Regions from separate parts of the Homo sapiens genome. Here region 1 is linked to region 2. Evidence: promoter capture Hi-C in 16 types of primary human blood cells and fetal thymus (Javierre and others, 2016). All regions are on one chromosome and are shown on one strand. The core of a region is centred on a gene start or on the middle of the fragment in contact, and the rest is flanking DNA. Distances in the headings are between cores, read along the strand shown.

Evidence for each region. Contacts are between HindIII fragments. The CHiCAGO score rates a contact against its expected background, and 5 or more counts as called.
Region 1: a contact is called between a fragment that was not itself captured here and the fragment with the promoter of RAB11FIP1 in region 2, in 1 of 17 cell types (neutrophils). The highest score is 5.4, in neutrophils.

Annotation. Positions count from the first base shown.
Region 1 is chr8:38,414,786-38,419,734 of GRCh38, reverse strand. FGFR1 (fibroblast growth factor receptor 1) reads left to right here. Exons shown (of 18, transcript NM_023110.3): 9 at 1-202; 10 at 1,362-1,507; 11 at 1,744-1,865; 12 at 2,319-2,429; 13 at 3,675-3,865; 14 at 4,834-4,949. Among named protein-coding and RNA genes, the nearest start is that of LETM2, 31 kb to the right of the region's middle. RefSeq lists enhancers at 809-1,572, 2,481-3,146, 3,587-4,357. The HindIII fragment of the contact is 8,773 bases long and covers 1-4,949 here.
Region 2 is chr8:37,896,750-37,901,922 of GRCh38, reverse strand. It overlaps RAB11FIP1 (RAB11 family interacting protein 1), which reads left to right and starts at 2,426. Exons shown (of 6, transcript NM_001002814.3): 1 at 2,426-2,852. The coding sequence starts at 2,482. RefSeq lists silencers at 2,162-2,391, 2,612-3,041 and an enhancer at 4,171-4,803. The HindIII fragment of the contact is 20,306 bases long and covers 1-5,173 here.

The sequences.
Region 1 (4,949 bases), core at 2,450-4,949, 520 kb before region 2:
CCTGGAAGAGAGGCCGGCAGTGATGACCTCGCCCCTGTACCTGGAGATCATCATCTATTGCACAGGGGCCTTCCTCATCTCCTGCATGGTGGGGTCGGTCATCGTCTACAAGATGAAGAGTGGTACCAAGAAGAGTGACTTCCACAGCCAGATGGCTGTGCACAAGCTGGCCAAGAGCATCCCTCTGCGCAGACAGGTAACAGAAAGTAGATGGGGGATTTGCACACTCAGCACCACCTCTCTCTCTGGGCCTCTAATGCCCTGCCCTCTCCATTGTCCCTAATTTATAGCTTTGGGCCTTATTTTCTGGCTTCTGGGCAAGGCACAGTGGAATATCATGAACTAAGTGCTCTAGAGTCTGTTTCAAGCTAGTGTAGCCCGTGAATTTCCTGCACCCTCCATATCACACTGCAAGTCCTCCGGACTCCTGGGACATGGATTGGGAGGAAGTCCTATTTGGACAGAATGTGCAGCCAATAGCATGAATTTGAACTGTCCCCAAGGGCTGCTTAGAAGTGCAGAGATGCAGGGTAGAGAAGAGAACTGTTTGTATTAGTCCATTTTCACACTGCTGAGAAAGACATACCCAAGACCGGGCAATTTACAAAAGAAAGAGGTTTAATGGACTCACAGTTCCACGTGGCTGGGGAGGCCTCACAATTGCAGAAGGCAAAAGGCACGTCTCACATGGCGGCAGACGAGAAGAGAGCTTGTACAGGGAAACTCCCCTTTATAAAATCATCAGATCTCGTGAGATTTATTCACTATCACAAGAACAGCACAGGGAAGACCTGCCCCCATGAGTCAATGACCTCCTACCAGGTCCCTCCCATAACACGTGGGAATTCAAGATGAGATTTGGGTGGGGACACAGCCAAACCATCTCAGCCATACCATACCCTTGTCCCCTGTGTGCCCACCCTTCCCCACGGGAGGAAATGGTACAGATGGCACAGGTGTGTGCAAGAATGACCGTTCCCTCAGAAGCCTGTGCTCATTCTGGAAGGTGCTTTGGGAGTTAGGAATCCATAAGCTAAGGCAAAGTATTTGCAAAGAGTCAGGAGAACAGAGTTGTTACTGCAATGATCAGTTATAAAATGTCAAGCTGGAAGAGGTGCATTTGGTCTGCTTATTTTAAAGGTGAGTGAAGTCCAGAAAGGCCAGCTTGTGGCAGAAATAGGTCAGTCCTAGAAGTTGGGCCTCCTGGCCTACCATGGTCTTTGGACCACTCTGTGTTGAGGAAAGAACATCAGATACACAGACATGTGCCTCTGCCATTGTTGGGAAGCCCTGACTAAGAATGGGAAGGAGTCACCCCGTCCCCCCTCCTTGCTCTAGGGTGACCCCACTCTTCCTTGCAGGTGTCTGCTGACTCCAGTGCATCCATGAACTCTGGGGTTCTTCTGGTTCGGCCATCACGGCTCTCCTCCAGTGGGACTCCCATGCTAGCAGGGGTCTCTGAGTATGAGCTTCCCGAAGACCCTCGCTGGGAGCTGCCTCGGGACAGGTAATAATACTTTGACTCCCAACTTTTTGAAGGCATTCCTTGCTTGCTATTCTAGTGGTGGAAGGTGTGTATACTAACACCTTCTGGGCGGTGAAGGTTCATGAAATGCCTGCAGAAACATTCATTCCACTTTCTGCTCGCAGTTGGGTGAAATACAGAGAGGTGGAGATGGGGTGCCTCTCAAGGTTTGAACTTCACCAGCCCCAACTTATGCCACTCTCTGTTTCCCCCGAAAGACTGGTCTTAGGCAAACCCCTGGGAGAGGGCTGCTTTGGGCAGGTGGTGTTGGCAGAGGCTATCGGGCTGGACAAGGACAAACCCAACCGTGTGACCAAAGTGGCTGTGAAGATGTTGAAGTGTAAGTGATGCTTCTGTCCTTGCAAAGAAAATCTTGTCCCATTCCAAGCAAACAGCAGGCCTCGGGCCCAGCAGAACAGCTTCTCTGGTGCCTTTGCTGCCCACACCTGCTCCGCTGCCTGCTTGGGGTTACCTGGGAGTGGAGGGGGTGTTCTGCACCTTGAGATTGTTCTATGACGTCACTCTGTTCCTTGGCGTCAACCTGGGCTGTGGTCAGGTGTTTATCCTGGATCCATCGCTTGCAGGCTTTCCTCACCACATCCCTGCCCACTCACTACCACCTATTGCAACAACGGCTCCCATGAGAGGGAAGAGAAAACAAGTTTGGATGAAGTGGGGAGGAGAGAATCAAGTCCCAGGGAAAAGCAGCCCCTCGACACATACCCCACTCCCTTAGCCTTTATCCTGCCCTCCTCCCTTCCCAAGTAAATGAGTCTCAACGTGTTCTTTAAAGCGGACGCAACAGAGAAAGACTTGTCAGACCTGATCTCAGAAATGGAGATGATGAAGATGATCGGGAAGCATAAGAATATCATCAACCTGCTGGGGGCCTGCACGCAGGATGGTGGGTGCCGGCCAGACTGGCTTTCCCTGCCCAGCGGGGAGAAGATCTGAGCTGGGGTATCAGTCCCAAGGCCTCTCTCAGCCACAGCTAGGGAAGGGGGTTAAGAGAGGCTGCTTTGGCAGAGGTTTAAAATGTGTTATCTCGGGATCTGGGCTCCGCTCATTGGTGTTCATTCAGGAATACAGATACCTAGATTCACACACGTGGTGTGTTAACAGAGGCAGCTGAGTAATTATGGTCTAAGAGCGCTCAGGCTGGGTGCAGTGGCTCATGCCTGTAATCCCAGCAATTTGGGAGGCCGAGGCAGGAAGATCACTTGAGATCAGGAGTTCGAGACCAGTCTGGTCAAAATGGTGAAACCCCATCTCTACTAAAAAATACAAAAGTTAGCCAGGCATGGTCACGCATGCCTATAATCCCAGCTACTCAGGAGGCTGACGCATAAGACTTGCTTGAACCCGGGAGGTGGAGGTTGCAGTGAGCCAAGATCACGCCATTGTACTCCAGCTTGGGAGATACTCCCGCTGTCTCAAAAATAAAATAAATAAATAGGCCAGGCACAGTGGCTCACGCCTGTAATCCCAGCACCTTGGGAGGGTGAGGCGGGTGGATCACTTGAGGTCAGGAGTTGGAGACCAGCCTGGCCAACAGGTGAAACCCCATCTCTACTAAAAATACAAAAAGTAGCCGGGCGTGGTGGCGCATGCCTGTAATTCCAGCTACTCGGGAGGCTGTGGCAGGAGAATCGTTTGAACACGGGAGGCGGAGGTTGCGGTTAGCCGAGATCGCGCCATTGCACTCCAGCTTGGGCAACGAGCAAAACTCCATCTCAAAAAAAAAAAAAAAAAAAAAAAAAATTAGCCAGGCATTGTTCATGCCTGTAATCCCAGCTGCTTGGGAGGCTGAGGCAGGAGAATCACTTGAATCCAGAAGGCAGAGGTTGCAGTGAGCCGAAATTGCGCCACTGCACTCCAGCCTGGGCAACAGAGTGAGACTCCATCTCAAAATAAACAGACAAACTGGGGCTCTTACCCCAATGTTGCTCGGGAATTTTCTGGACTATGCTGGGAGTAATTATTTCTCTGATTTTTTTTGGGTAGTAGAATGGATTTCCCAGGTCCCCTAAGAGGAGGCAGGAGATGGGAGGTTGGCCGGGGTGTGCTGCTGGGGGTGGGGTTTCTTTGAGGTGAAGCCAAACCTGCTCACCTGCTGCTGGCCCCATGGCCTCTTCTCCTGTGCCTGCAGGTCCCTTGTATGTCATCGTGGAGTATGCCTCCAAGGGCAACCTGCGGGAGTACCTGCAGGCCCGGAGGCCCCCAGGGCTGGAATACTGCTACAACCCCAGCCACAACCCAGAGGAGCAGCTCTCCTCCAAGGACCTGGTGTCCTGCGCCTACCAGGTGGCCCGAGGCATGGAGTATCTGGCCTCCAAGAAGGTGTGGAACCTGAAGGCTCCCCTGGGTAATGCCAGGGTGGGAACAGAGCCCCCCTAGTCTTCCAGCCTGTGACTTATCATCTTGTGGTGGCGTTGTGGATGCACTGAGCACTGGCCCTGTGTGCCCTGTGTGTTGTCTTAGGCTCTCTGGGAACTGCAGAGTCAGGAGCACCAGTGTAGCCAGGTGGCCTTGGGGTCAGACTGATGCAGGGTCCGATCTGTGCACTGCCACTTTCTGCGTAGCCTCAGGCAGCTACTTAGCATCTTAAAATTCTTCAAATACAAAATAATAATAATATCAGCTGGGTGCAGTGGCCAAGGCGGGAGGATTGCTTGAGCTCAGGAGTGTGAGACCAGGTTGGGCAATATATTGAAACCCCGTCTTTAAAAAAAAAAAAAAAATTAAAAAATTAGCTGGGTGTGGTAGTGCGTGCCGATAGTCCCAGCTACTCGGGAGGCTGAGGTGGGAGGCTAGCTTGAGCCCAAGAGTTTGAGGCTGCACTGAGCCATGATCACACCACTGCACCCCAGCCGGGGCGACAGAGCAAGGCCCTGTCTCAAAAGAAAATAAAGTATAACAATACCTGTTGTAGAATTGTTATGAAGATAAAATGAAACTGTCTGTGAGTGTTGAGTGCAGTGTTTGGTGTGTAAGGGCTGGCCTGGTTTGAGCCCAGCCCCATGTGGACTTGCTGTGCTGGGAGGCAGGACCTAGGAGCATGCATCGCTGCAGACGCAGCAGAGGCATAAGGGGCCAGTCTTTGGGGAAGGAAGGGAGGAGCGCTTGCTGTGATGAGAAGCCTGGAGCTGGCAGAGAATGTTAGAAGAGGGAAAGCAAAGGTTCGGGGGGCAGAGCAGTGTGGCAGAAGTTCTATGAGACAAGTCGGCTAGTTGCATGGGTGGCGGCCGCCCAGAGCCTTCCAGCTCCCTCACCTCCCCGCCTCCCGCTCTCCCTTCCTCCTTCCTCAGTGCATACACCGAGACCTGGCAGCCAGGAATGTCCTGGTGACAGAGGACAATGTGATGAAGATAGCAGACTTTGGCCTCGCACGGGACATTCACCACATCGACTACTATAAAAAGAC
Region 2 (5,173 bases), core at 1,177-3,676:
TGTTGAATGAGTATAATGGATCATCCAGAAGGGAAAATGGCACCAAAACAACACAGTTCTGTTAGGCTTTCTTGCCCCTTCTATGCCTGCTGGCTTCTTTCCCCCACTCCTCCCATCATCGTTACATATTTCCAACATGGCCAGGTGCAGTGGCTCACACCTGTAATCCCAGCACCTTGGGAGGCCGAGGTGGGCAGATCACTTGAGGTCAGGAGTTCAAGACCAGCCTGGCCAACATGGTGAAACCCCATTTCTACTAAAAATACAAAAATTAGCGGGCATGGTGTCGTACATCTGTAATCCTAGCTACTTGGGAGGCTGAGGTACAAGAATCGCTTGAACTTGGGAGGCAGAGGTTGCAGTGAGCTAAGATTGCGCCATTGCACTCCAGCCTGGGAGACAGAGCAAGACTCTGTCTCCAAAAAGAAAAAAAAAAAAGAAAAAAAATATTTCCAACATACTAAACAGGCCTTTCTCACACTGCAGCTGCCCTCAGTTGCAAACCTGAGGCATACCTCTGTCTTCTAATTTCCTACGTGGTAAAAGGAAACACTTGGTCCTCATGGTTGGCCAACTTAACCTGCAAACTCTTGAGTTCAGTAGCACTTCCCGGGTACCTACTGTGCACCCAGGTTTGTGCTGGAGGCTGTGAAGGAGACAAGTTGAATAAGTCACTACCTGGTCCCTGCCCTCAGCAGGGCATAGGAAGTCAAACCTTGGAGAAATATGAGTGAACCCTTGCAGTGGGAGGTTGGCAAAGACAGTCAAGGGTACAACGTAAAGGCCTGGAAGTAAAAAGTGTCTGGGCTACAGGTTTGTTTGTTCGGGAGATAGAGGAGAATGAGGTAGGGTGGGGTCAAAATGGAGTACCTTGAAATCTCTGTTCAGTCCGAAGGTAACGCGGTTGCTGGTGAGGCAGCCAGCAGGTTAGTGAAGCAATGTGCAGTGTGAACCAGAGGGAGGAGAGCCTGGAGATTGGAGGGACACGAGTAGCCATCCAAGATTGGGGTTCTGTGGATCTGGAAGAATCAAGAGATGCACTGAACAGCTGTTTGGGAGTCAGGACACTGGGATCCCAGTCCCAGCTCTGCAGAGGGACCTTGGACATGTCACTCCTCTCTTCTGAGTCTTTCCTTAACTGTAAAACTTTAAAACCTTCCAAGTGACCTTTCCAATCTGATGACTCGTTAAACAGTTGAGCCTTTGAACTAGGACCTGTGAAATGAAGGGAAGCAGCCGATCTATTAGGCATTTGGAACAAGAAAGGGACTGCCTGGGAGCCCAGGGATAGAGGCAGGGAGAGACTAAAGAGGGCCTGGCAAGGGAGAAATGGGGAACTGCGGGCTGGGGGCCTGCCACTGTCCCGATGTTTGATTTGGCAATCCCATTTTCAGTTCCTCCTTTCTTCCCTTTTTCTAACTCAGCCTCGCCTTATCTGGTGGGGGGAGGGCAAAATAGGACACTCCCACATTGAACTCATGCTCCCCAGGATACCTTCCCCTTTTCCGGCCCTCACAAGGTCCTCACCTTCCTCTGCAGCTGCCTTCCTCCAGAGCAAGGCTTTCCAGCGGGAGAAGTAGAAAGCACAGTGAATTGGGTGGGCATCTTCCTTAGCACCCTCATAGTTACCAACTTTATTTTTTTGAGACAGGGTCTTGCTCTGTTGCCCAGGCTGGGAGTGCAGTGGCACGATCTCGGCTCACTGCACCTCGACCTCCTGGGCTCCAGAGATCCTCCAGACTCAGCCTCCCAAGTAGCGGGGACCACAGGCGCTTGCCACCACTCCTATCTAATTATTTTTAATTTTTTTTGTAGAGACGGGGATCTGGCTATGTTGCCCAGGCTGGTCTCGAACTCCTGGGCTCAGGAGATCCTCCTGTCTCAGCCTCCCAACGTGCTGGTCATGGTTATTTACTGAGAACTCACCATGAGCCAGGCACTGGGCCAAGAACTGTAATGCATTATTATTATTATTTTTTACAGCAATCCTAGGAGGTGATTGTCAGGTGAAGAAATTGAGACTTGATGTTAGGTAATCCGCGCAAGGCCACGACTGGCGATGTGACCCTGGAAATGAGGTCTGACTTCCAAGTCAGTGCTTCGGCCAGCTCCTTCCCGCCGTGCGACCTTTGGCAGCTGGGGACCCCATCCGTCACCTACCACCTCTCAGATTAGATTCTCGATGCGCCCGCCCCTGCGCACGTGATCCCCTGCCTGCCTGGCCGCGCCAGCCCCGCCTCCGGCGCCCGGGTGCCCGGAGCTGCCCGCGCTGCTGAGGCCGGCGGGGCGGGGCGGGGCGGGGCGGGGCGCGGCGCAGCAGGTGGAGCAGGCGGCTCGGGCAGGGGCGTGGCCTTGGCCATGAGGGGCGTGGCCTGGCGGGGGTGTGGCCGGAAGCCTTAAAGTGGCCTGGTCGCCGGGGCGGGCCGTGGAGGCCGCCAGTCGCGGCGATCTTCTCCTCGCTTCTGGAGTGTTATCGTCACCATGTCCCTAATGGTCTCGGCTGGCCGGGGCCTGGGGGCCGTGTGGTCCCCAACCCACGTGCAGGTGACGGTGCTGCAGGCGCGGGGCCTGCGGGCCAAGGGCCCCGGGGGCACGAGCGACGCGTACGCGGTGATCCAGGTGGGCAAGGAGAAGTACGCCACCTCCGTGTCGGAGCGCAGCCTGGGCGCGCCCGTGTGGCGCGAGGAGGCCACCTTCGAGCTGCCATCGCTGCTGTCCTCCGGACCCGCGGCCGCCGCCACCCTGCAGCTCACCGTGCTGCACCGCGCGCTGCTCGGCCTCGACAAGTTCCTGGGCCGCGCCGAGGTGGACCTGCGGGATCTGCACCGCGACCAGGGCCGCAGGAAGACGCAGTGAGTGCGGGCGGGGAGGGGAGGGCCCGGCCTGGGGGCGCGGACCCCTCCGGCAGGGCGGTCTGGGCGCTGGACCCTTCGAGAGTAAGCCGGGCAGCAGCGGGGAAGGCCTTTCGGGACGGAGCCCTCGGCCGGTGCTGGTGTTCTCACCTGGCTTCCCCTTCTGCGGCTGTCCCGCCCAGCTCTGCCAGCTTTGGGTCTTCTTGGAAGAAGGGGCCGTATCTGGGGCGCTTTTTTTTTTTTTTTTTTTAGACAGAGTCTCTGTCGCCCGGGCTGGAGTGCAATGGCAATGGCACGATCTCAGCTCACTGCAAACTTCGCCTCGCAGGTTCACGTGATTCTCCTGCCTCAGCCTCCCGAGTAGCTGGGATTACAGGCGCGCACCACCACGCCCGGCTAATTTTTTTTTTTTTTTTTTTGAGACTGAGTCTCACTCTGTCGCCAGGCTGCAGTGCAGTGGCACGATCTCGGCTCACTGCAACCTCCGCCTCCTGGGTTCAAGCGATTCTCCTGCCTGAGCCTCCCGAGTAGCTGGGACTACAGGCGTGCGCCACCACGCCCGGCTAATTTTTGTATTTTTAGTAGAGACGGGGTTTCATCAGATTGGCCAGGATGGTCTTGAACTATTGACCTCGTGATCCACCCACCTCGGCCTCCCAAAGTGCTGGGATTACACGCGTGAGCCACCGCGCCCGGCCCGCCCGGCTAATTTTTGTATTTTTAGTAGAGACGGGGTTTCACCGTGTTGGCCAGGCTGGTCTCGAATTTCTGACTTCAGGTGATCCGCCCACCTCGGCCTCCCAAAGTATTGGGATTACAGGCGTGAGCCACCGCGCCGGGCCTGGGGCGCTTTTGAATCTGCAGGACGCCCCTCAGCGTCTGGCACACAGTAAGCACTAAGTGAATTTTAGATGAATTCCAACTATACGTGGGCAGGTGCCTTCTTCTTACTAGGGTGGTAGCCCGTGTCTGATACTCGCCTTCGCTTGGGTGGAAGGCCTCCTGGGTATTTCACTGAATAGAAGAACACTTCGAGCCGAGAATGACTGGGCCAGGGCGCAGGGCAGAGGAACAGGAGGCATGAAACCAGCTGACACCCCCACCCTAAAGGCTAACCCCGGGCGCAACGCCTTTACAATGCGGGGTGGGTGGAGGTTGGGGGAGGGGAATGGCGTTTGCCGGCTGTCACATGACTTGCTAACCCCTTCCCCTACCTCATACTTGCCTAGGGGGTTGGTGAAGAGAATTTGCCCCTACAGAAAGAATGTTACAACAGTGTGGTGTGTGCCCTGGGCCCCATGTTAGTAAAGATTTCTCCAGGTTGGAAGGAGCCCGGGTGGGCCCTTGACGGAGCAGAACTGGGCATTGTTTCCTTTTGGAGTTGGTAGAGTTCTTCTCTCTGGTCCTAATCCTGGTGGATGTCTGCTCGCCTGTAGCTCCCAAAGATTGTGTCAGGTTATTTCACTTCTGCAGTAAAAACTGGGCAAAAACCATTCACTCCATGATATTACCGAATTATTTGTTTCACAGGTGTTCGGAAAGGGCAGTGCTTCACCCAAAGGAACGTTCGATTATGTTCATCTAGTATGCCAAAGCTAGCCTCGATTAGCTTAGCTGGTTACTTTGTTAGATCTTAAATACACAGGCCAGTCAGTTAGCACCGAAAGCCTATAGTCTAGGAATCACACTGATTTGCTTTGTGTGTTTTAGATATACATAGCCTTTTAACTTTCCCTTCTGTGGGAGACAGGAAAAGCCAGAGGGTTTGTCCTCTGGAGGCTCCCTTTACTGTGGGGTGGGTTCCATTTCAGCATGTAGGCTTGCAAATGGAATATTTGATGATGCAAACTTACCTGGCCAGAGATGAATAGGCATTTCTGAACTCACATCAGATAAAACTAGCCTTGATGTGAGGATGGATGGGGTATCTCACAGCATCAATTTACAAGCCATAAGGTGAGCAGTGTTTTTGCTAAGGAGGGGCTGCAGCAATGCTGATCTTCCATCTGATTAAATGACACTGGGGGTGGTGGGTTGGCTTCCCTTCAGCTTCAAATGGGTGCTGTTGGCCATCCGTTGTCTTGCGCCATCCCAACATGTGTGTATTCACTTCCTTCTCTGCCACCTGTTTCTTATGTGGACATTTTATCCCCTTGAGAGGTAGATCACATCTCCCTGCCAGAGATGGAGATTCCAGAGTCCTGGGTCCAGTGCCCACAGCAGCCCTGACTCATTGTTGGGCTTCTCTGTCCCTAAACACCCAAGTTTCTCTATTTGTAAATAGAGCATGTTGCCAGACTTAATTGATGTTTGTAAGATGT